Linked DNA regions of Homo sapiens: all the other regions are linked to region 1. Evidence: promoter capture Hi-C in 16 types of primary human blood cells and fetal thymus (Javierre and others, 2016). All regions are on one chromosome and are shown on one strand. The core of a region is centred on a gene start or on the middle of the fragment in contact, and the rest is flanking DNA. Distances in the headings are between cores, read along the strand shown.

Region 1 (3,128 bases), core at 383-2,882:
AAGTAATTAAACTTAATGCCTATAGTACTCTAAGATCTTGGCCAAGAACATGGAAATCAAATTCAAATGCTATTCATATAAAGTACTAACTTATGTGACGGTATGTGGCCTGAGAAAACAATAACAAGTTACTAATTTATTGGGAAATGAAATATGGGCTTAACCAGGTACAATTGGTCGAGTAACCTCTGATTATACAACCAAAAATTTTCCACTGTATGGTCTGTGAAAATAAGTAATTCAAAAATTGAAGCTGTTGGAACTCTAAATTATCTTGAAGTTTAAAGTAATGTGACTCTGGAATTGAGTCACCTGACACTGGAAAGAGCCAGCTGGAACCCTCCCACACTTGACTACAGATTAACCATCAGACAGGCTTCACTATACCTGGACAGGCCTCATTATACCCGCTTCCTTTAGGAGTTTCCACATAGCCACTGACCCACCTTCATGTTAAAACAGACATCAGCCAACTGGAAACACAGACTCTCTGTGACAATAAGAAACCAAATTACAAACAAGACCTAAGGCCATGCAAGGCAAGAGGTAAGTCAAATCTTAGAATTCACAAAATCTAAAGAAACAGGTCTTTTGTTTTGGGTGGGATGAAATCATATGACAGATACCAGACCCTCTTCACTTAAGCAATCCTTCCTACCGCCTCGAAGTTTTAGACAAAGCTTCACACTCTCCACCAACGGCCACCTTCAGAATCCCTCAACCACCTGCACCTTCTAACCCCCCTTCCACAGGTCCCGCCCTTTCTGCCAAAGGAACTTACACCTTTCCAGGCATTGATGCATGATTCTCCCTGCAATTCCTGTCTCCCTGAAATGAATAAAAACAGTCTTGAGCCGCCTCGGGACCACTTACTTCAGGCCTCCTGGGGTTGTGTTTTCCTCAGCTGAGGCCTCTCCTATTCGGCTCTGAATAAACTTCTTTAAGTTATTTTACACAGCTTGGCATTTTCCGTTAACAAATTACAAGCCAGGACTGGGTGTTTATCATTCAGGAATCTCAAAGGAACTCTAATTATTAATATATTTTTTAAAACCTATTCTGAGAAGCAAAACTATAATTGTTAACGTGTCTCAGTTTAATTTTTAAGAGGAGAAAGGCGCTACTGGGGACCCCACAGCCCACCCTCCTCCTACACAAACCCCCACACCCGAGGCGGGATCCCCCCATGACCCTCGCGTAGTCCCCGCACAATGTGGGGAGACGCGGGGCAGCGGGCGCGGAGCTGCCCAGAGAGGGCTCTGGGAACTGGGTGACAGTCACCGCGCAGGGACAGGACGAGACGCCCGGGTCCCGGCGGCCGGCCCAGCCCCACTGTGGGGCCAAGGGGACCAAGGGCCGAGCTGTCCCACGGGAAATCGGGTCCCAGACCCCGGAGTCGCCGCGGGGAGGCCCGGGTCCCACCACAGCCGGTTCCGGCCGGTTCCAACCAGCTCCTCCCCCGCCTCGGGACCCCTGGCCCGCACGCTCACCATTTCTTGCCTTTCAGGTGACTCCCACGACCAGTGCGGGTCACAGCACAGGCGACAGAAGCTATGGCAGAGGCACCTGAACCCTCTCGGAGGGGAAAGCCAGGCTCCCAACCTCAGCTCGCCGCCTGGAGCCGGGAACCGAGGAGAGCAGGGCCTTCGCCCTCCCCGATGGACACTCGGCAGGCCCCGCCCAGCGCCCCTGATTGGACGAAGCGCCGGGCCCCGCCCCCTCAGCCGTGAGTGACAATAGAAGCCCTTGGTAACGGGGCTCTGAAAACGGGTTTGACCGGATCCAGCGATAGATTCTTTAAGCCAGAGGTCTGTAACCTTTTTAGCACCAGAACCGGTTTCGTGGAAGACAGTTCTCCTACGGGGGCAGATAGTTTCGGAATGAAACTTCCACCTCAGATCAGGCATTTTATCCTCATAAGGCGAACCCAACCTAGATCCCTCGCATGTGCAGCTCACAATAGGGTTCGGGCTCCTATGACAGACTAATGCCTCTGCTGATCTGACAGGAAGCATATCTCTGGCGATAATGCCCGCTGGCTCGCCCGCCAGCCGCTCACCTCCTGCTGTGCGGACTGGTTCCTTACAGGCCATGGACCGGGGGTTGGGGACCCCTGCCATAGAGTACTGTTGAATAGAAACTTTAGCTCGTCCGGCGGTGGGCTGGGGGGGTGGGGGTAGCTCATGCCTGTAACCCCACCACTTTGGGAAGCCAAGGCAGGCAGATTGCTTGAGCCTAGGAACTTAAGCCCAGCCTGGGTAACATAGCAAAACCCCGCCTCTACAAAAAATACAAAAATTAGTCGGGCGTGGTGGTACATGTTTGCAGTCCCAGCTACTCGGAAGGCTGAAATGAGAGGATCGCCTGAGCCCAGAGAGGTCGAGGCCACAGTGAGCTGTGATTTTACCAGCCTGGATGTCAGAGTGAGACCCTGTCTCCGAAAAAAAAAAAAAAAAAAAAGACAGGGAATTGCAGTGGAGTTTAATATACATAGAGCCGGCTAAATGAAAGAGAAGAGTTTTATTTTTATTCAATTCTGTCTCCCTAAAAAATGGGAGGCTAGGTTTTGTTTTTTTGGTTTTTTTTTGAGACGGAATCTCTCTGTCGCCCATGCTGGAGTGCAGTGGCGCAATCTCGGCTCAGTGCAACCTCCGCCTCCCGGGTTCAAGCGATTCTCCTGCCTCAACCTCCTGAGTAGCTGGGATTACAGGCATGCGCCACCATGCCCGGCTAATTTTTGTATTTTTAGTAGAGACGGGGTTTACCATGTTGGTCAGGCTGGTCTCAAACTCCTGACCTCATGATCCACCCGCCTCGGCCTCCCAAAGTGCTGGGATTACAGGCCTGAGCCCCCGCACCCGGCCGAGGCTAGGGTTTTAAAGATAATTTGGTGAGCAGAAGGCTGGAAAATGGGGAATGCTGATTGGTCGCGAAAAGGATATCACAGGAAGTCTCAGCTGTCTTCTTGCACTGAGTCAGTTCTTGGCTAGGGGCCACTGGAGCAGGTGAGCCAGTTTATTGGTCTGTGTGATGCCAGCAAATTTATCAGAATGAAGGGTCTCAAAAATACCTCAAACACCAATCTTAGGTCTTACAACAATAATATTATCCACAGGAGCAAGTGAGAA
Region 2 (3,128 bases), core at 281-2,780, 500 kb before region 1:
CTAAAAATACAAAAAATAGCCAGTCGTGGTGGCAGACACCTGTCATCCCAGCTACTTGGGAGGCTGAGGCAGGAGAATCGCTTGAACCCAGGAGGTGGAGGTTGCAGTGAGCCGAGATAGCATCACTGCACTCCAGCCTGGGGAATAGAGACTCTGTCTCCAAATAATAATAATAATAATAATAATAATAATAATAACAGTGTCCATCTCTGAGGGCGTCATGAGAATTGAATGGATATATGTACAGAGTTGGAACATGGCCTGACATAAGGGCTGTAGTCTGTGGCATATTGCAGCCATGCCATTAGCATGTGACCGATAAACTGCATATCCTCAACATATCATTAGTGTGTGGCAGGTTGCAGACATGTCATCCAAGTGTCACAAACATGGCCTTGCCATGTGGGGCATGATGTGGGCATAGCATCCACCCCTGTGGTCCAGGGGTGAGATCTGGCTGGGTAGGGCTGTTTGACAGGGACACAGTTCACGGCCTGGGACTTGCCAACAAAGTCACCCTGTAGTTCAGGTGACACACAAGTGGATGGGGAGGGTGAGACCCAGGATCTCTTCTCCCCCAGGTCCTTATGAGGGGCTGGAGGAGACAGAACTGGGGTGCTGGACCCTCAGCATAAAGAATGCTATAGGCTGGGCATGGTGACTCATGCCTGTAAATCCCAGCGTTTTGGGAGGCCAAGGCGGGCAGATTGCTTGAGCCCAGAAATTTGAGACCAGCCTGGGCAACATAGCGAGACCCCGGGCAACATAGCGAGACCCCATCTCTAAAAAAATAAAATAAAATTAGCCAGGTTGGTGGCACAAGTCTGCAATTCTAACTACTTGGATGGGCTGAGATGGGAGGATCACTTGAGCCTGGGAGGTCAAGGCTGCAGTGAGCTGTGATTGTGCCACTGCACTCCAGCCGAGGGGACAGAGTGAAACCTTGCCTTAAAAAGACTGCTATGGCCCGAGTCCCTCTGCTGTGCCGGGCACTGTGCTGGGCATGTAACAGGCATATTCTTCTGATCTTTACAACTCTCCCATGAGGCAGGCACTATCGTTAGCCCATTTTACAGATGTGGCCATAGAGGCCCAGAGAGGAGAAGGGGCTTACCTAAGGCTATAGACTGTTGGTATCTGGAGATAAACCCGGGATGGTGCTCACTAAACTACCTTGGGTGTCAGTCCTGCTTCAAGACTCCAGAGAGATAAAGAGAGATGACCTCAGAGACAAAGAGACTCAGACCCAGCCAGAGGCCCAATGGACAGTGGGAGGGGTGGGTGGAAGAAGGCTGGTCTCTGTCTGACCAAGCCCCCCCAGAATAACGCAGGCTGCCCCCCTAGGTGGAAACAATGACACAATCAGCTCCCAATACCAAGGGCCTGACATCACAAGGGGAGGGGAAGGCAGCTGAGGTTGTGGGGGGAGGTGCCCCGCCCCTTGGCAGGCCCCTACAGCCAATGGAACGGCCCTGGAAGAGACCCGGGTCGCCTCCGGAGCTTCAAAAACATGTGAGGAGGGAAGAGTGTGCAGACGGAACTTCAGCCGCTGCCTCTGTTCTCAGCGTCAGTGCCGCCACTGCCCCCGCCAGAGCCCACCGGCCAGCATGTCCTCTGCTCACTTCAACCGAGGCCCTGCCTACGGGCTGTCAGCCGAGGTTAAGAACAAGGTAGGGCTGGAGGGCCTCCCTGGCCTGGCCCACACGTCCTGCCAGGCCAGAGCCCTGAGCTTGGGGTCCCTTGAACCCCCTCCTGCCTATCCTATGTGACTTGGAAACTGAGAGGGGAAAAGGGAGTGATATGGGATAGGGGCTGCCTGTCTCCCCCTGAACATCCCGGAGCCCCCAGCTATGGTTGGGGCTGGAATGGGGGGGCACACAGCCACACATAAACAGAGGGGGTCAGTCCATTGCAAAGATACCCACCTGATCAGTCTTCTGTTAACCCTTCGTGTTCTTGGGGGGAACAACATAGGGGGAAGACTTGTTGATTTTTCCATATCCCCCGGCCTGACAAAGAAATTGGGGAGCGCTTGAGTGCTGGGGTACCTGGGAAGTGACGCCGTGAAAGTGTGGGAGATCCTGAAGACAGAGGGGGACGGTGAAAGGCAGGAAGCGGGCATCAGAAGTGCGGCAGGGGTCTCCTGACTGTGGAGCTAGGAAGATACCTGGACACCACCTTCATGCTATGGTTGGGTAAACTGAGGTTCGGAGAGGAGAGGCAAATAGCTGGGGTCCCAGGTAAAGCAGGTACAGCGCTCGGACCCTGGACTCACCCCCCATACACCAGGATGGGCTCAGCTTCTCCCAGCTGGAGAACTTTAAGTTTCCAGCCCACTGGAATCGCCCCAACAGTATTGCCGAGGGAGGAGTTCCTGCCCCATTTGACAGAGGGGAACACTGAGGCTCAGGGTGGCTTTTCCCAGGGTCCCATGGTGAGGAAGTGGGGGACTGGGTTGGAACCTGGGTCGAGGGATCTCGGGGCTGGAGGAGGGGGCTGGTGGGGGGCGGGTCCTCGGGCGAGAGACAGATCCCAGCGCCGCCCTCCTCCCCCCCAGCGCCGGCCCCAGAGCCGCGCAGAGCCGCGCAGAGACGCCGCGCCTTATAAGGCGGCCTCGGGGAGCCCGGGCCACGCTATATAAGGGCCGGTTTGCTTTATAAAGCCGGGCTGGTGGCGTGGGGGGCGGCAGGGCCAGGGCCAGGTGAGGGGGCCGCCCCTCCCACCTCCCCCCACTCACCCGGGAGAAGAAGAGGCAGCCCGGTCCCCTAGGGGCTGGGAGCCTGGCTGGGCTTGGGCGGAGGGTTCTGGAGAAATGGGAGTGGAGTGGGGGAGGGGGGGGACAGTGGAGAGAGGGAAAAGCAGGGAGGTGGGGGGAGAGGCAGACAGAGATACTGGGAGCCTGAGACACCCTAGGGACAGACGGGGGAGGGCGAGCCAGGAGCGAGATAAGACCTAGACAAGGATGGAGGGGCAGGGAGAGGAGACAGAGCCCCACCACCCCCACCCCAGGCAGGAAACCTGGAGACAGAGAAAGACCTAGAGAGGCAGATATACAAGACCCAGGAGCCCTACCCCTGGCCAGACAGGGACTAGCCACCTAGAGAGATGGGGACCCAAGACTGGGCCAA
Region 3 (3,128 bases), core at 373-2,872, 480 kb after region 1:
CTACTACTACTGGCCTCTTCCTGTACTCGGTGGGCCCTTTCTCCCTCTTCCAGGTCACAGATGAGCAGAAGGAATTCCAGACTCAGTGTCCAATGGAGACATCTCCTTCCCTCAAAGCAAAAGGAAGCCGAGTCCAAACCAGGCCACACTGGAACAGCAGGGAGGGCCTGATGTCCTCCAGAGATCAGGAATTTGGGATGGGGCAGTTGGTGCCATGGCCAAGCCATTTTCTCACCTTATCTCTTAGTCTACTCATTTTCAGCCCAGAAAAAAAAACAACAACAACAAAAACCATGCCAACGTGGGAATAAAATTAATAAAGGCATGGAAAAATTATTAAATGCATAGTTATATGGCAGCATTATTCCATAAAGGAATCAAAAGGAAAGCAAACATTTGAACTAGCTCAGGCAAGCAGGCTTCACCCACAGTTCACAAGGAACACCTGCATTCAGGTTTAACATATTCTTAATCTTGGGAGTCAGACTCTTGACTACTGAAATGGATGCCCAGGTCGATCAGACCCTCCTGATGAGGTAGGGAAACCTAAGGATTTAACTCTGGGAGCTCAACATGCCCTTATGTACCCTCCACACAGTGTGGAAAAGCTGCCTCCTTCAAGACCTTCATTTACACCTGCAGGAGACTCTTACCTGGAGTCAGTTTAACATTCTAACCTACATAAACTATCAGCTACATAAATCCTTTCTCCAAAATGAGTCTTTATCTGAGCCTGACCATGCCAGATTTACTTCACATATACAAATTACAGTTGGACCACAATGACCCTATGTATGCCAAAACAAACACATTGCCCAGAAAATAGTTAGCCTGAGAAAGGACAGAACACCCCAAGCATGTCTTCACATGAATCTTTTGCTTTCCAGGGCTCTGCTTCTCAGAATCTGCACTCCTGTAGCTGTTCTGAGCAACCAGAGGCCACCTACGGAGACAACAGGCTGCCCAGAAAGCCACATGAGGAGCTCCATTTCCCTCCCTTTGCAGGCTCCAGACTGGCCTCAGGTTGGAGTCACTGGCTGCAGGCGCTGCTGCCCACTGCAGGTTCTTCACCTGCTTCTCACCAGCACTGATCAGCTACATGAGACAAAGACTCTCTATCGTACTGTATGAGAAAGAAACCAGCAAAGTCCTACGTTTCCTCCTGTGTTTACATACAAATCAGAGGAAGAAAATCTTAAAATATTTTATATGGATTAAAACACTGGAGTGGGCGTAAGTAATGGCTTGTGCCTGTAATCCCAGCACTTTGGGAGGCTGCAGTGGGAGGATCGCTTGAGCCCAGGAATTCAAGACCAGCTTGGGCAGCATAGATTTTCACCTCTAGAAAAAAATTTAAAAACTTAGCAGTGCATGGTGATGCGCATCCATGGTCCCAGCTACTCAGGAGGCTGAGGCAGGAGGATCACTTGAGCCTAAGAGGTCAGCACTGCAGCGAGCCAAGATTGTGCCACTGCACTCCAGCCTGGGCAACAGAGTTAGACTCTGTCTCTAAAAAGATTTAAATAAATATATTTTAAAATTGGCAAATAAGCATTCCTTTTAGAAAACAAAGATGCTAGCGAACTATTATTTTCACATTAACACTTATGAAAAGAACTAATCAAATGTGAGCTCTTCCCTTTTTTCTCTGTTTCAGTGGCCACCTGACCTTCACAGTACATGGTTGTCACCAGGTGCTCTGTGGCTGGGGATGTTCATGTCCAGTTTATCCATCTGAATCTCTCTCAACCCCACCCCACCACCATTGACCCACCCAATTATTTCTGTAGCTAAACATTAAGCATTGTATAAATAACTGTCCCTTTCAAAGAGGACTCAGGTTGAATACACCTGTGATTCTCTCAGATCCTCTGATATAATCATTTGCATTTGTCTTCCAGGATAGACTGTGATATCTTGAGTAGGAACCTCATTCATTGTATTTGCTTCTGTTCCCCCAAACCTGTGTCACCACCTGATCATTGAGGACACAGAAAATTTATTTTATTTATTTTTTTGAGATGGAGTCTCACTTTTTTTTTTGAGATGGAGTCACCCAGGCTGGAGTGCAGTGGCATGATCTCAGCTCACTGCAACCTCCACCTCCCACGTCAAGCGATTCTCCTGGTCAGCCTCCAGAGTAGCTGAGATTACAGGCATGCCTCACCAAACCTTGCTAATTTTTTTGCATTTTTAGTAGAGACAGGGTTTCACCATGTTGGCCAGGCTGGTCTCGAACTCCTGACCTCAAATGATCCACCCGCCTCAGCCTCCCAATGTGCTGGGATTACAGGCATGAACCACCGCGCCCAGCCAACACAGAATATTTTAAGCTGACCATCAACCTGCTGTAAACATTGGAGATCTCAGCACAACCCTAAAACATCCACACCCCAGGGAGAGTATACAGATATTAACGTGCCCTCACTACAAGGAGCTCCACTGACTCCCTTTCTGGAAAATGACTCAAATCGGTTTTCTGGAGGACTATATGCAATTAATAGATATAAAAATAACATGTTGTTTGCTTTTATTTACATGATTTACCATTTCTGTTTGTTTTTGAGACAGGGTCTTAGTCTGTCACCCATGCTGGGGTGCGGTGGCTTAATCTTGGCTCACTGCAACCTCCACCTCCTGGGCTCAAGCAATCCTCCCACCCCAACCCCTTGAGTAGCTGGGACTACAGGTGTGCACCAACATGTTTGGCTAATATTTAAATTTTTGGTAGAGATGAGGTCCCACTATATTGCCCAGGCTGGTCTCAAACTCCTGAAATCAAGCAGTTCTTCTGATTCAGCCTCCCTAAGTGCTGGGATTACAGGCGTGAGCCACTGTGCCTGGCTGATTTAACTTTCATAGGTTGTTAAGAAAGCGATTAACCCTGTGAACCATGGTTGGATTTCACTGATTCTCAAAACTTGTAGTGAATTCTTATAATTTTATGTTGCCTTGACATCCATTTTAAATACAAGTTTAACTTTCTCATAGGAGAAGCAGGGTTTATTCACTGTTAACACTGTTTCCAGTTCTCCACCTCCTCCCAGTTCCTTAATGTAGTGAATCCATATATCTGCCTTAGACAACTGATACCCAGTGACCACCTCGTTATAGGACAGCCAGATATA
Region 4 (3,128 bases), core at 425-2,924, 440 kb after region 1:
CTAATATCATATTTAATAGTGAGAAAATAGATGCTTTCCTGGTAAGATGAGGAAATGGGCAAAGATGTCCCCTCTTACCACTCCTACTCAACAGATTGTACTCAAAGTGTAACTAATGAGAGGAGAGGGGAGGAGAGGAGAGAAGAGATATAGATTGGGAACAAAGAAATATCACTGTCTTTGTCGCATGTGACATGATTGTCTAAGTAGAAAATCTCAAAGAATCCACAACAAACTCCTCAAACTAGAGGTTGAGGATATAATCTTAATATACAAAAGTCAATTGCCTTCTTACAGACTCACATTAGTATAGTATAGACTCACTGAGTCATCTGATTTTCAACAAATGACCAACAGCAATTCAATGAAAAAAGATAGCCTTTTTCAACAAACAGTGTTGGAAAAACTGAACATCCACATGCAAAACACAATGAAAAAAACACAAATCTAGAAACAGACGTTACACCTTAAACAAAAACTGGCTCAAAATGGATCACAGAACTAAATGTAAAATCTAGGCCAGGAGCAGTGGCTCATGCCTGTAATCCCAGCACTCTGGGAGGCCATGGCAGGAGGATAGCTTGAAGTCAGGAGTTTGAGACCAGCCTGGGCAACTAAGTAGGACCCCATCTCTACAAAAAATACAAAAATTAGCCAGGTGTGGTGGTGCACGCTTGTAGTCCCACCTACTCAGGAGGCTGAAGTGGGAGGAGTGCTTGAGCCCAGGAGGTTGAGGCTGCAGTGAGCCAAGATTGCACTACTGCACTCTGGCCTGGGCAAGAGGGAGAACTTGCCTCAAAAAAAAAAAAAAAAGTAAAGTTATAGGATACTAAAAGTTAATGAAGAAAATCTAGGTGACCCTGGGTTTGGTGACAAATGTTTAGATATAAGCAAAATCCATACAAAATAAATCAGTAAGTTTGACTTCATTAAAATGCAAAAGCTCCTTCTCTATGAAAGCTCTGTGTTAAGAGAATGAAAAAGACTCTAGAGCCTTTTGCGGTAGGGGGACCCACTTAAGGTGGGCCAATTTGCAATTAACAGCATAAAGTGGTTAAGTAAAATTTATAAACAAGGAATATGTTGCCTCCAGAACATCAAAAGAACCTAGAAGATGCTGTGGGTAGTCAGAGGGACAATAGCTATTTCATAGTAGTGTCAGGGATGGAGCGGCCCTCCTTTTACCAAATGGTTTTTAGGAACTTAACCAAAACATAAAGGTCTCTTATTTTATATATGGGGCAATGGACTTTTTGTAAGCTCTATTTTTTTTTTCAGTATTTATGTGTCCTGAATGAATGCCAAAACAATGTCCTCAGACAAGGCTGTCATTAATGTAATATCATACCTGTGTTCTAGAGAAAGGTGGATGCAGTTCAGATTTTGCCTGCAAAGACTGTGCAACAGCAAGGCTGTTGAGGTTCCCTTGGGAAACTAGGTAAAGTTATATAATTAGCCTGTGAGATGGTGAAATCTGTGAGATCAGCTGGATGGTGTCAGTAATTTCCATGTTGGATATTGGTATAGGGGCTTAATGGGTGGGACCACAGCATTAAGGTTATGGTAATCCATTGTGGGTTGCCATTCATTCTCTCCAAGTTTAAGAAAGGCCAAACTGTACTTTTAAAACGAGAAGCACGGGGAATAATCACTTCCTCACTAAACAAGTTTTACATAATACTTTTCAACCCTTCAAGGCCCTGTTCAATTTATATTGAGCCATCATAACTAATTTAACTGGGGAGTAAGTTCCACAGGGTCTCATTCTGTCAAGCCAGTTTGTAAGTGCCAAAGATTTAATTTAAATTTCACTTATGACTCACTGGTTTAGAGTTTACCTGTTCATTCTGGCGTATTTTAGGACACTGGGTGCCATGAACATGGGGAATTTAGGCACAGTTATGATGGCTAAGATGAGACATACTTATTTGTCTTCTATTTTATATTCAGTAACTCCCTTAAGATTATCAGGGGATACCTTGCTTAAATTTTAGTGGGTCTCCCAGGTATAACCATAATTTGAGCCCTTGTATTGGCTAATCCTATAGTGTGTTAATTAATACATTACATAAGATGTTAAAATTAATACAGAACCTATGATATAGAGGCTCTTTTATCTTTTTTGCCGTCTAAATTCCTTTAGTCTATTTGGAATTTCCAATTGGGTCAAATTGTGGACCTCTTTTTCAGCATTTTTTTCTTTTGTTCCTTTCCTTCCTAACATGTTTGTTTTGTTTTTGTTTTTGTCCCTGGATATATTTTGACAGCAAAATCCTCTCTACAGGGGAGGGGTGTTCTTTTCCCTCCAGAGAGCCACAAATCACTATTATCAGGCTTAGGGGCCTGTCCCTCATGGTTGCTTTATAAAGTTTAAGCACCTGGGCCTTAAGCTGGCTTTGAATGAACCCTTTGCAATGCTGCAGAGGAAACATGAGTGTGCCCTATAATCCTGAGGGTCAGCATCCTTGCTGCAATAGAGCAACAGCAGCAACACTTAAGGGTCCTTGGGAGCCCTGTGCTATTAGGAGTGTGGACTCGGCCCACCATCTAACAGCTGCCTTTCCCCCTCTCTTTTGTCTCTTTTTCAAAAATGACTGCTCTGGCAGGTAGTCTTTCCCATGAGCACCTTGTATGCCAGGTCAGCAGCAGTCACAGCTTCACTCTAAAACACACAGATAAGTCCAGGCCAAGAAACACTACCCAGGACCACTTTAAGGAGTATCAAATCTCATATTCCTCTTCAAAAAAGCCAAGGAATTATCAAAACGGCCAACTCCAGTTGGCTAAACATAGAACCCAGACTTGGCAGGGCTCAACATGCAGCACAGAGTAGCACAACTCAAAGTAGTAGCTTCCCAGAAAGCAGCAGCTGAAAGTGCATGCTGGCCATCAGGCAACAGAGCAGGTAGCAATTCAGTGCAAGAGAAGACAGACCCATGGGGTGACAGTCAATGTCTGAACACCATGCTCATGGTAACAATTCCTGTGTCGTTCCAATGTTGACACTAATAACAGCGTGGAGAACAGACACCAAAGGGTATGAAAAGACTCACTACTGTGATCATTGAGGTCTTGGGGAAAGCAGGGCAGGCTGCCCAAGCAGGTGTGACATAGCTTCAGAGAGCAAA
Region 5 (3,128 bases), core at 429-2,928, 420 kb before region 1:
AAATTTCAAGTGTTTCCTGTTATTCGTAGCTCAATGTAATGCCTCAGTTCATTTTCAGTTGTTTGATTATATGTGACTAATATGTATTTTTTATTCAAACAAGACTTCTGTACATGTTTCTTCAAAACAGTTTATTAACTGTCTTCAGTCTTGGATTACATCAAGTTTATAATTTTGGCAAATTGTTAAGACACTGTGAAGTCAGCGTTAACCATGTGCATACAACTTAAGGAATTTTTTCCTCCTCATGTAAATTTTACTTTTCATGCTTATATAGTTTCAACTTTTATCTTCATAGTAATTTCTCATCTACTCATAATACCAAAAGTTAAGTCATGCTGTTTTGTGTGCTCTCTTGCTAAAGACCGCAGAGACCATACCTGTTGTCAAAGAGGGTGTAATAAACTGTAATAATAATCATGACCACAAACCATAAAGGACTGTGTGATGTATCAGTAAGAGGGTGCTCAGAAGAATTTCTTACAGGTTTTGTGCTTGTTATAGGTTGGTTGATTTCTATTTTTTTTTTTTTTTTGATATAGAGTGTTGCTCTGTTGCCCAGGCTGGAGTGCAGTGGTGCGATCTCAACTCACTGCAACCTCCACCTCCCAGGTTCAAGCAATTCTCCTGCCTCAGCCTCCAGAGTAGCTGGGATTTCAGGTGCACACCACCACACTCGGCTAATTTTTGTACTTTTAGTAGTGAACGGGGTTTCACCATGTTGGTCGGGCTGGTCTCAAACTCCTGACCTCGTGATCCACCTGCCTCGGCCTCCCAAAGTGCTGGGATTACAGGCATGAGCCACCGCACCTGGCCAGGTTGATTGATTTATGTTCAGGGAAGCAAGATGATTCTCTGTATTTGATGCAGTGATGAGGTAAACTTAATTCTAAACTTGGTAATCATAACTGTTCTTATCCAGAAGGGAAAAGGAATGGAGTGGAGGTAAACGTAATTCATGAGAAATACCACTCAGTCATATTAGTGAGAAGAGGGGAATTTGGGTCATGTTTATGATTTGGAACATGCTGTCTTTCACCAGTTTTAAAGACATGGTTACAGAATGCCCTTTTTTTGTCTTGATTCATCATAGCCACCTAGGAGCATGGTCTCACATTGCTGGTGTCTGACATGTTTCTCTCCAACAGCGTAAGACTTGGCCTTGCAGTGAGCGGAGGCTGGCTCCTGGACTTGTGGACCTGTTTTTGCCTTACTTATTCTCTGAACACTGAAGTATTTCCTGTGATGTACTGGACACTGTTTTCCATTATGTACCTCAGTTAAAATATGTAAATTTACTTCTTAGCAAGCTGTATAATACTTTTAAAAAGCTCCTTTACGAGTCTAATGAGACTAATATATTTATGCACATTTTCTGAATGCAAGCCTAGGAAGGGAACAAAGTCAGCATCAATATTCCAACCAAGCCTTTCTTGCTCCAATAATATGCTTTTGTTTTTGTTTTTGTGTTTTTGTTTTTTTAGACAAGAGTTTCACTCTTATCACCCAGGCTGGAGTGCAGTGGTGCAATCTCAACTCACTGCAACCTCTGCTTCCCGGTTCAAGTGATTGTCCTGCCTCAGCCTCCTGAGTAGTTGGGATTACAGGTGCCCACCATCACACCCGGCTAATTTTTGTTTCGTATTTTTAGTACAGACAGGGTTTCACCATGTTGGCCAGGCTGATCTCAAACTCCTGACTTCAGGTGATCTGGCCGCATCGGCCTCCTAAAGTGCTGGAATGGATTACAGGTATGAACCACTGTTCCTGGCATATATGCTTTTGCTTCTAATTTATCAATAGGCCTCTTATGCCAGCACTACAGAGTAAAAAGCAACATGCAAAAGTCAGCTTTTTGTCTGTACACTTCCACGGAACAATCCAATCACTTCGTTGAAGGTGTCCAGCAAGCTCTTGTTGAGAAAATCCCTGTTGAAACTTCTCAGTGTCAAAAGCCCAGGTATCACAGGATAGAGTAGCAATCAGCAACCAAACCATGACTGTATGTGGAGATGACATATTCAGCCCCAGATAATGTATTCACATGAGTGAAGGGTGGAGTCATTGCCTGTCAGATTCTACAGTCATTTGGATTAGAGAGGGCAATACAGAGTTAGGTGCTACTGAATCCAACCACTGAGTCCTTCTCCCTTGAAGGCAACACCCACAGTGATAGTGTGGGCCACAGAGTAGAAACCCCACCATCAACACGACTCCAAATGTGATTTTGCCCGGGATGCAGGTGCTGTGTTGGGATGCAGGTGCTGTGTGGGGATGACCAGTGAAGGTAGGGGACACTGGAAGCACAGGGTGAGGGAGATGAACAGGACACAGCTGAGCCTGATTATTGGCCTTGACTGTGGGAGTATCTTGATGCTTCACAAACACCCCAGAGAGGACATTGTAGCACAGGCCCAAAGAGTGTTCATAAACCAGAGGGCCACCACTTTTGGAAGGCAGTGATGTGGCTTTCTGTTTGAGTCCTGATGCTCTGTTGACAGCATACACTGTTCTTCATCTGATTAGAAAAGCAATGCCGGCTGGGCGCAGTGGCTCACGCCTCTAATCCCAGCACTTTGGGAGGCTGAGGTGGGCAGATCACCTGAGGTCAGGAGTCCGAGACCAGCCTGACCCGCCTTGGACCTATTGGACTGAACAAACGGGAGCAAACACAGGAATAAAAGACAAGAGACAAAAGAGTATATTTGGAAGAAGGGGTTGGGGGGCACCTTGCCTCTAGTGGACAAGGGCCCCGAGCTTTACACAGCCCTCTGTATTTATTAGACAAAAGAGCGAGAAAAGCGGGGGGTGATTGTTGGGTAATTGTCAGTTGGCCATTTGGTTCACACCAGGCTTGTGAGACTGCATCCTTTGGACAATAGGCACTAATTTTCTCAGTAGATAACTTCAAGGAGCCCAGTGCCAGGGAGTGATGTCCCTCAGCAAACCTTTTGGTGGCAGGGCAGTGAGTTTGCCCACATCCTGCATTCATGATAAACAGTTTGCTGTTTGATCCCATATAGACTCCTGCGGAATGCTGAGTTGGTCACGTCCCACGGGCCTTCGGCTCCCTGCATATCCCCCTTTTTGTTTATGTATTAATTGAAAGAATGTAAGGCCAGGCTGAG
Region 6 (3,128 bases), core at 256-2,755, 390 kb after region 1:
CGGGTGGATCACAAGGTCAGGAGTTCGAGATCAGCCTGACCAACATGGTGAAACCCAGTCTCTACTCAAAAGACAGCTGGGTGTGGTGGCGCGCACATGTAATCCCAGCTACTCAGAAGGCTGAGGCAGGAGAATCACTTGAACCCGGGAGGTGGGGGTTGCAGTGAGCCAAGATCACGCCACTGTACTCCAGCCTGGGCGACAGAGCAACACTCCGTCTCAAAAAAAAGAAAAAAAAAAAAGAAGGAAAGAAAGAAAAGAAAACAAAAAACACTTAGCCTCTGTAAGCATCACTGTGAGGGGGCTGAGGAGAGCAAGAGGAAGGAGTTTGAAGCCAGTAAGTTCTGGCTAGGCTAACTATGCAACACAGTGCAGCCCAAGAACTTGAAGACCACAGGAGAATTGGCATCGGCTGATGCCAGGGAAACAACAGCATTCCTAGAAGAGCTCATAAAACAGAAAAAAGACACTACCTTCCAGAGTAAATCTTCTATTGTCATGAATCAGGCATGTTCTAGAAGATGCCCAATGGTACCTTCATACATGAGTGCAGGTACTGGGGTTCAAGGCCTGGAAAGACCACCTTTTTCTGGTGCTGTCAGGCCATGCATTAGTTCATGAGAACAAGCGAGGCTTCGTCTACTGAGCAATCACCAGGTTCTTTAGGACAAAAGCAAAACTTGCTGGCCTGTGTCCTGGCAAGAACATAAGAAGGCTTTCTTCTAGCAATGCTTCACTCCTGATGTGATGGAATACCTCAAAGAGAAGGGACTGCCACTCAAGGTCTTCCTCAGAATTGACAACACTCCAGGCCATCTCTCCAATCTCTGTTTTGCCTAAAAGAACATGCAAGTGATATTTCTGCCTCCTAAAACTACATCACTGCTGCGTCACTAGATCAAGGCATCAAGTGCATTCAAGTGACTTACATCCTTGGGTGAATTCATGGAGTCTTGATGCTAACCTTGAATGTACCACAGTGGTTTTATTGAAGAGCTTCACAATTACAAATACAATTGTGCTTATTGGGAAGGCTACAGATGCCCTAAAGCCCAGGACAGCCAATACATGTTACAAGCCATCATGGGGTAAGGGAGTCAATGATTTCAAGGACTTCCCTACTATTAATGCAGTTATTAAGAATATGTGAAATGTTGCAAAAAAAGTTGGTGGGGAACGCTGTCTGAAATGACTGAGGATGACGTTAAGGAACACACCGAAAAGCAAAGAGAAACCCTTACCAGCTAGGAACTTCAAAGTCTGCTGAAATCCACTACAGATGATGATGAGCTAGAAAACTTAGAAGACACAGAGCCATTGATTTGGACACTTGAAAAGTTTGCCACAGTTTTTCAGTAGGCAAAGGTGAAAAAGAGGTACGATCCTCAAAGATCCTATAATGGAACAAAGCTTTCAATCTACCTGAGAAACAACAACATGCCTATAAGCACCACAAGATTTTTTTTTTTAATGAAGCAAAGGAAAAGAAGAACTAGCTTCCTATAGCTAAGCATCTGCAAATAAGACGGAACATTCAATGGTTTTTTCAGTAGGCAAAGGTGAAAAAGAGGTACGATCCTCAAAGATCCTACAGTGGAACAAAGCTTTCAATCCACCTGAGAAACAACATGCCTATAAGCACCACAAGATTTTTTTTTTAATGAAGCAAAGGAAAAGAAGAACTAGCTTCCTATAACTAAGCATCTGCAAAGAAGATGGAACATTCAATGGTTACAGATCTTCAGCCCTCAAGCCAAACAGATCCTAACATTAGTATTACATAGCCTCCTCAAATGAGTCCACATCTATAATCACAAGTTGGTTCTTCCAACATAGATGATAGTCCTGATGGCCTGTCAAGATTCAAGTTAACCTGATGTCTCACTACTTACCCACAATGCCATACATCTAGTCATCTCAACACATCAAAACACTGGGCACCACAGAATCATCATCATTGTTATAATCACTATACTTGGGTTATCAAGAGAGAAGACCCAGGGTTTTGGTAAGTGTTAACACATTAAACAGAAGAAATAGGTGAGAGTTGAAACAAAGAAACTTTAATGTTCTGGCTGACTACACTATGTTGATAGGCTCACAATTACTGCATCTATACTGAAAATACATAGACTCTTTTCCTTATCATGATTCCCTAAACAATACAATAGAACAACTATTTGCATAGCTTTTATAATGCATGAGGTATTTTAAGTAATCTAGACATAATTGAGACTATACAAGAGGATGTGGGTAAGTTACATACAAACATGTCATTTTATAAAAGGGACTGGACATGGCTCACGGAGTGCTGGAACCAATACCCAGCAGGTATCAAGGGATGACTGTACTGGAAAGAAACTGAAACTACTTAAGGCTTTACCAAGTGCTTACATTCACAGGGTCTATCTCCAATGTGTTTCGTACAAGTATCTGAAATGAAATAAAATTAATAAATGCTTTCCCACATTCCATACATTTAGAGAGAATGCTAGTGAGTCTTTTTATGTCTATGCAAGGAACTGAGAGAAGCAAATGCTTTCCCACATTCCTTACATTCATATGGGTTCTCTCCAGTGTGAGTTTTTTTCCAGTGAGTCTTTTTATGTCTATGCAAGGAACTGAGAGAAGCAAATGCTTTCCCACATTCCTTACATTCATACGGGTTCTCTCCAGTATGAGTTTTTTCATGTCCTTGAAGAAAACGGGAATGAGTGAAGGCTTTACCACATTGTGGACATTCATAGGATTTCTCTCTCATGTGAATTCTTTCATGTCGTAGAAAGCAAGTGAGCCAAGAGAATGCTTTCCCACATTCCTTACATTCATACGGCTTCTCTCCAGAGTGAATTCTTTCATGTACCTTTAAGTTATCATAATGACCGAAGGCTTTCCTACATGTTTTACACTCATAAGGTTTCTCTCCTGTGTGAGTCCTTTTATGTCGAGAAAGGTATCTGAAACGACTGAATGCTTTCCCACATTCCTTACACTCATATGGCTTCTCTCCAGTGTGAGTTGTTTTGTGATTTTGAAAGGAACAGAAATCAATACAGGCTTTCCCAAGTTTGCATTTATAGGGTTTCTCTCCAGTATGAGTTGTTTCATGCCTTCGAAGGGAACTGGAA
Region 7 (3,128 bases), core at 629-3,128, 380 kb before region 1:
AAAAAAAAAAAAAAAAAAGAATACAGTAGACCCTTGAACAAAGTGGGTGTCAGAGACTCTTAACCTCTGCACAGTTGATGATCTGGTTTTAACTTTTGACTCTATAAAATGTTAACTGTTGGCCGGGTGCAGGGGCTCACACCTGTAATCCCAGCACTTTGGGAGGCCGAGGTGGGTGGATCCCTTGAGGTTAGGAGTTTGAGACCAGCCTGGCCAATGTGAAACCCCATCTCTACTAAAAATACAAAAAATTAACCAAGCATGGTGCCAGGCACCTGTAATCCTGGCTACTCAGGAGGCTGAGACAGGAGAACTGCTTCAACCTGGGAGGTGGAGGTTGCAGCGAGCTGAGATCATGCCACTGCACTCCAGTCTGGGCAACGAGAGTGAAACTTCGTCTCAAATAAAAAGAAAAAAAGCTAAATGTTAATAGCCTATTGTTGACTGGAAGCTTTATCAGTAACATAACCAGTCAATTAATACATATTTTGTGTGTTGGTGTGTATGTGTAAGTGTATATTAGGACAGTGTCTCACTTTGTTACTCAGGCTGGAGTGTAGGGGCATGGTCATAGCTTAATACAACTTAGAACTCCTGGGGTCAAGCAATCCTCCTGCCTCAGACTCTTGAGTAGCTAGGATTGTAGGCAAGTGCCACCATGCTGGGCTGATTTTTAAATTATTTTTTGTGGAGATGGAGGTCTTGCTATGTTGCCCAGGCTGGTCTCAAACTCTTAGCCTCAAGCAGTCCTCCCACCTCATCCCTAAGTGCTGGGATTATAGGTATAAACCACCATGCCTGGTCTGTTTGGTCTATTATATATGGTATTCTTATAATAAAGTAAGCTAGAAAAAAGAAATATTATCAAGAAAATCATAAGGAAGTGAAAACATATTGACTTGATTAAGTGGATCATCCTAAAGGAATCCTTTTCATTGTTTTCACATTGAGTAGCCTGAAGAGGAGGGGTTGGTCTTGTTCCCTCAGAGGCAGCAGAGGTTGATAAAAGTTTGCATATGAGTGGACTTGTGCCATGCAAGCCCATTTTGTTCAAGGGTCAATAATATTTTGGTGAATAAGTCAGGCATGGTCACAGTGTCCCATGAACATAGAATCTAAAATGTTTCTATAATTTTGTAATCATTTATCATGACTTTTATGGGTCTACATTTTAGGAATAAAATGGGAAGACCGGAACATTGAAGATCAGTACAAAAATTCCAGGAGAAATCCAAGGTAATTTGCACTTATAACATGAAGCTGTGTCCCTTGAGATAATGTTAGAGTGATAGGAAATTATATTTATTTACTTATGTATTCATGTATCTGAGACAAGGCTTAATCTGTCACATAGGCTAGAGTGCAGTGGCATGATCATAGCTTACTGCAGCCTTGAACCCCTGGACTCAAGCCATCCTCCTTTCTTGGCTTCCCAGAATGCTAGGATTACAGGCATGAGCCACTGTGCCCAGTGGAAATTTAAAGAACAAGCAAACAAAGTGAAGCAGCCCAGCTTCAAATTTGTTAATTTTTAGAATGTTTTCTCCAAAAATATATACTTAAATACATACACATTCATTGTTTGCAAAATAGTTGCCTTGGAAACAGTATTAAGAAATCCCATAGTGGCCGGGTGCGGTGGCTCACGCCTTTAATCCCAGCACTTTGGGAGGCTGAGGAGGGCGGATCACGAGGTCAGGAGATCGAGACCATCCTGGCTAACATGGTGAAACCCCATCTCTACTAAAAATACAAAAAAATTAGCTAGGCATGGTGGTGGGCGCCTGTAGTCCCAGCTGCTTGGGAGGCTGAGGCAGGAGAATGGCGTGAACCCAGGAGGTGGAGCTTGCAGTGAGCCGAGATGGTGCCACTGCACTCCAGCCTGAGTGACAGAGTGAAACTCCGTCTCAAAAATAAAATAAAATAAAAAAATAAAGAAACCCCATAGTGGCCAGATGTGGTGGTTGATGCTTGTAATCCCAGTACTTTGGGAGTCTGAATGGGAAGATTGCTTGAGCCCAGGAGTTTGAGACCAGCCTGGGCAATGCAGTGAGAACTCATCTCTACAAGAAATAAAAAAAATCAGCCAAGCCTGGTGGCGCATGCCTGTAGGCCCAGCTACTTGGGAGGCTGAGGTGGGAGGACTGTCTGAGCCTGGAAGGTGGAGGCTGCAGCGAGCTGTGGTCATACCACTGCATTCCAGCCTGCGCAACAGAGTGAGACCCTGTTTCAGGAAAAAAAAAAAAAAAAAAAGAATAAGAAAAAAGAAACTGCCTAGTAACATCACTGTTTTGATAATAGCTGTAATAGAGCCCCTTTGCAGAGAATTCAGTCCACTCACTGTCAGACACTTCAGACAGAACATAAAGCCTACATTTCTCATGATAATGTAAAATATGCAAATCAAATGCTTGCTAATATAAAATTATTTATCAACAAATTCTTTGTAATGTGCTTCTTATTTTTTATAGAAATCATATGGCAGAGAGACTCTGTGAATGTAAAGATGGTCAATGTGGAGAAACTTTCAGCCTGATTCCAGATGGTATAATGAACAAGAACACTCTTCCTGGGGTAAAACCATGTGAAAGCAGTGTGTGTGGAGAAGGCAACGTGGATCATTCATCTCTGAATTGCTACATCAGAGCTGACACTGGACACAAACCGTATGAGTGTCAGGAACATGGAGAGAAGCCACATAAATGTAAGCAGTGTGTAAAAACCTTCAGCTGCCTCCACTCCTTCCAAACACATGAAAAGCCTCACACAGGAGAGAAACCCTATGATTGTAAGGAATGGGAAAAAACCTTCGATTCTCCCCAAACCGTTCGAAGATACAGGGTAGTGCACAGTGGAGATGGACCTTATAAATGTAAGTTTTGTGGGAAAGCCTTTGATAATCTCAGTTTATATCTCACACATGAAAGATCTCATACTGGACAGAAGCCATATGAATGTAATGAATGTGGGAAAGCCTTTGGTTTTCCCAGCTCCTTTCATAGACATGAAAGAATGCACACCGGGGAGAAACCATATGAATGTAAGCAATGTGGGAAAACCTTTAGTTGTTCCAGTTCCATTAAAAAACATGAAAGAATCCACACTGGAGAGAAGCCCTATGAATGCAA

Evidence for each region. Contacts are between HindIII fragments. The CHiCAGO score rates a contact against its expected background, and 5 or more counts as called.
Region 2: a contact is called between the fragment with the promoter of CNN1 here and the fragment with the promoter of ZNF433 in region 1, in 6 of 17 cell types (M0 macrophages, total CD4 T cells, neutrophils and 3 more). The highest score is 6.6, in M0 macrophages.
Region 3: a contact is called between a fragment that was not itself captured here and the fragment with the promoter of ZNF433 in region 1, in 6 of 17 cell types (total CD4 T cells, fetal thymus, M1 macrophages and 3 more). The highest score is 7.8, in total CD4 T cells.
Region 4: a fragment that was not itself captured here is called in contact with the fragment with the promoter of ZNF433 in region 1 in 9 of 17 cell types (naive CD4 T cells, M0 macrophages, monocytes and 6 more); the score reaches 6.1 in naive CD4 T cells.
Region 5: a fragment that was not itself captured here is called in contact with the fragment with the promoter of ZNF433 in region 1 in 1 of 17 cell types (erythroblasts); the score reaches 5.1 in erythroblasts.
Region 6: a contact is called between a fragment that was not itself captured here and the fragment with the promoter of ZNF433 in region 1, in 2 of 17 cell types (erythroblasts and M1 macrophages). The highest score is 8.3, in erythroblasts.
Region 7: a fragment that was not itself captured here is called in contact with the fragment with the promoter of ZNF433 in region 1 in 1 of 17 cell types (erythroblasts); the score reaches 6.6 in erythroblasts.

The regions. Positions count from the first base shown.
Region 1 is chr19:12,034,047-12,037,174 of GRCh38, forward strand. ZNF433 (zinc finger protein 433) reads right to left here and starts at 1,633. Exons shown (of 4, transcript NM_001308348.2): 1 at 1,491-1,633. The coding sequence starts at 1,493. ZNF433-AS1 (ZNF433 and ZNF878 antisense RNA 1) reads left to right here. Exons shown (of 3, transcript NR_134929.1): 2 at 1,508-1,726. RefSeq lists silencers at 1,168-1,287, 1,298-1,347, 1,588-1,747. The HindIII fragment of the contact is 7,472 bases long and covers 679-3,128 here.
Region 2 is chr19:11,537,321-11,540,448 of GRCh38, forward strand. CNN1 (calponin 1) reads left to right here and starts at 1,531. Exons shown (of 7, transcript NM_001299.6): 1 at 1,531-1,670. The coding sequence starts at 1,608. RefSeq lists an enhancer at 502-1,447 and a silencer at 2,507-2,556. The HindIII fragment of the contact is 23,519 bases long and covers 1-3,128 here.
Region 3 is chr19:12,514,107-12,517,234 of GRCh38, forward strand. No RefSeq gene overlaps it. Among named protein-coding and RNA genes, the nearest start is that of ZNF709, 31 kb to the left of the region's middle. The HindIII fragment of the contact is 8,614 bases long and covers 1-3,128 here.
Region 4 is chr19:12,475,593-12,478,720 of GRCh38, forward strand. All of the region lies in intron 1 of ZNF709 (zinc finger protein 709), which reads right to left. Among named protein-coding and RNA genes, the nearest start is that of ZNF709, 7.7 kb to the right of the region's middle. The HindIII fragment of the contact is 6,195 bases long and covers 1-3,128 here.
Region 5 is chr19:11,618,703-11,621,830 of GRCh38, forward strand. ZNF627 (zinc finger protein 627) reads left to right here. Exons shown (of 4, transcript NM_145295.4): 4 at 1-459. It also overlaps the pseudogene VN2R12P. Among named protein-coding and RNA genes, the nearest start is that of ZNF627, 23 kb to the left of the region's middle. The HindIII fragment of the contact is 6,209 bases long and covers 1-3,128 here.
Region 6 is chr19:12,427,665-12,430,792 of GRCh38, forward strand. It overlaps ZNF443 (zinc finger protein 443), which reads right to left. Exons shown (of 4, transcript NM_005815.5): 4 at 2,042-3,128. The coding sequence ends at 2,492. Among named protein-coding and RNA genes, the nearest start is that of ZNF443, 12 kb to the right of the region's middle. The HindIII fragment of the contact is 194 bases long and covers 1,409-1,602 here.
Region 7 is chr19:11,649,182-11,652,309 of GRCh38, forward strand. It overlaps the pseudogene ZNF887P. Among named protein-coding and RNA genes, the nearest start is that of ZNF627, 53 kb to the left of the region's middle. The HindIII fragment of the contact is 2,859 bases long and covers 450-3,128 here.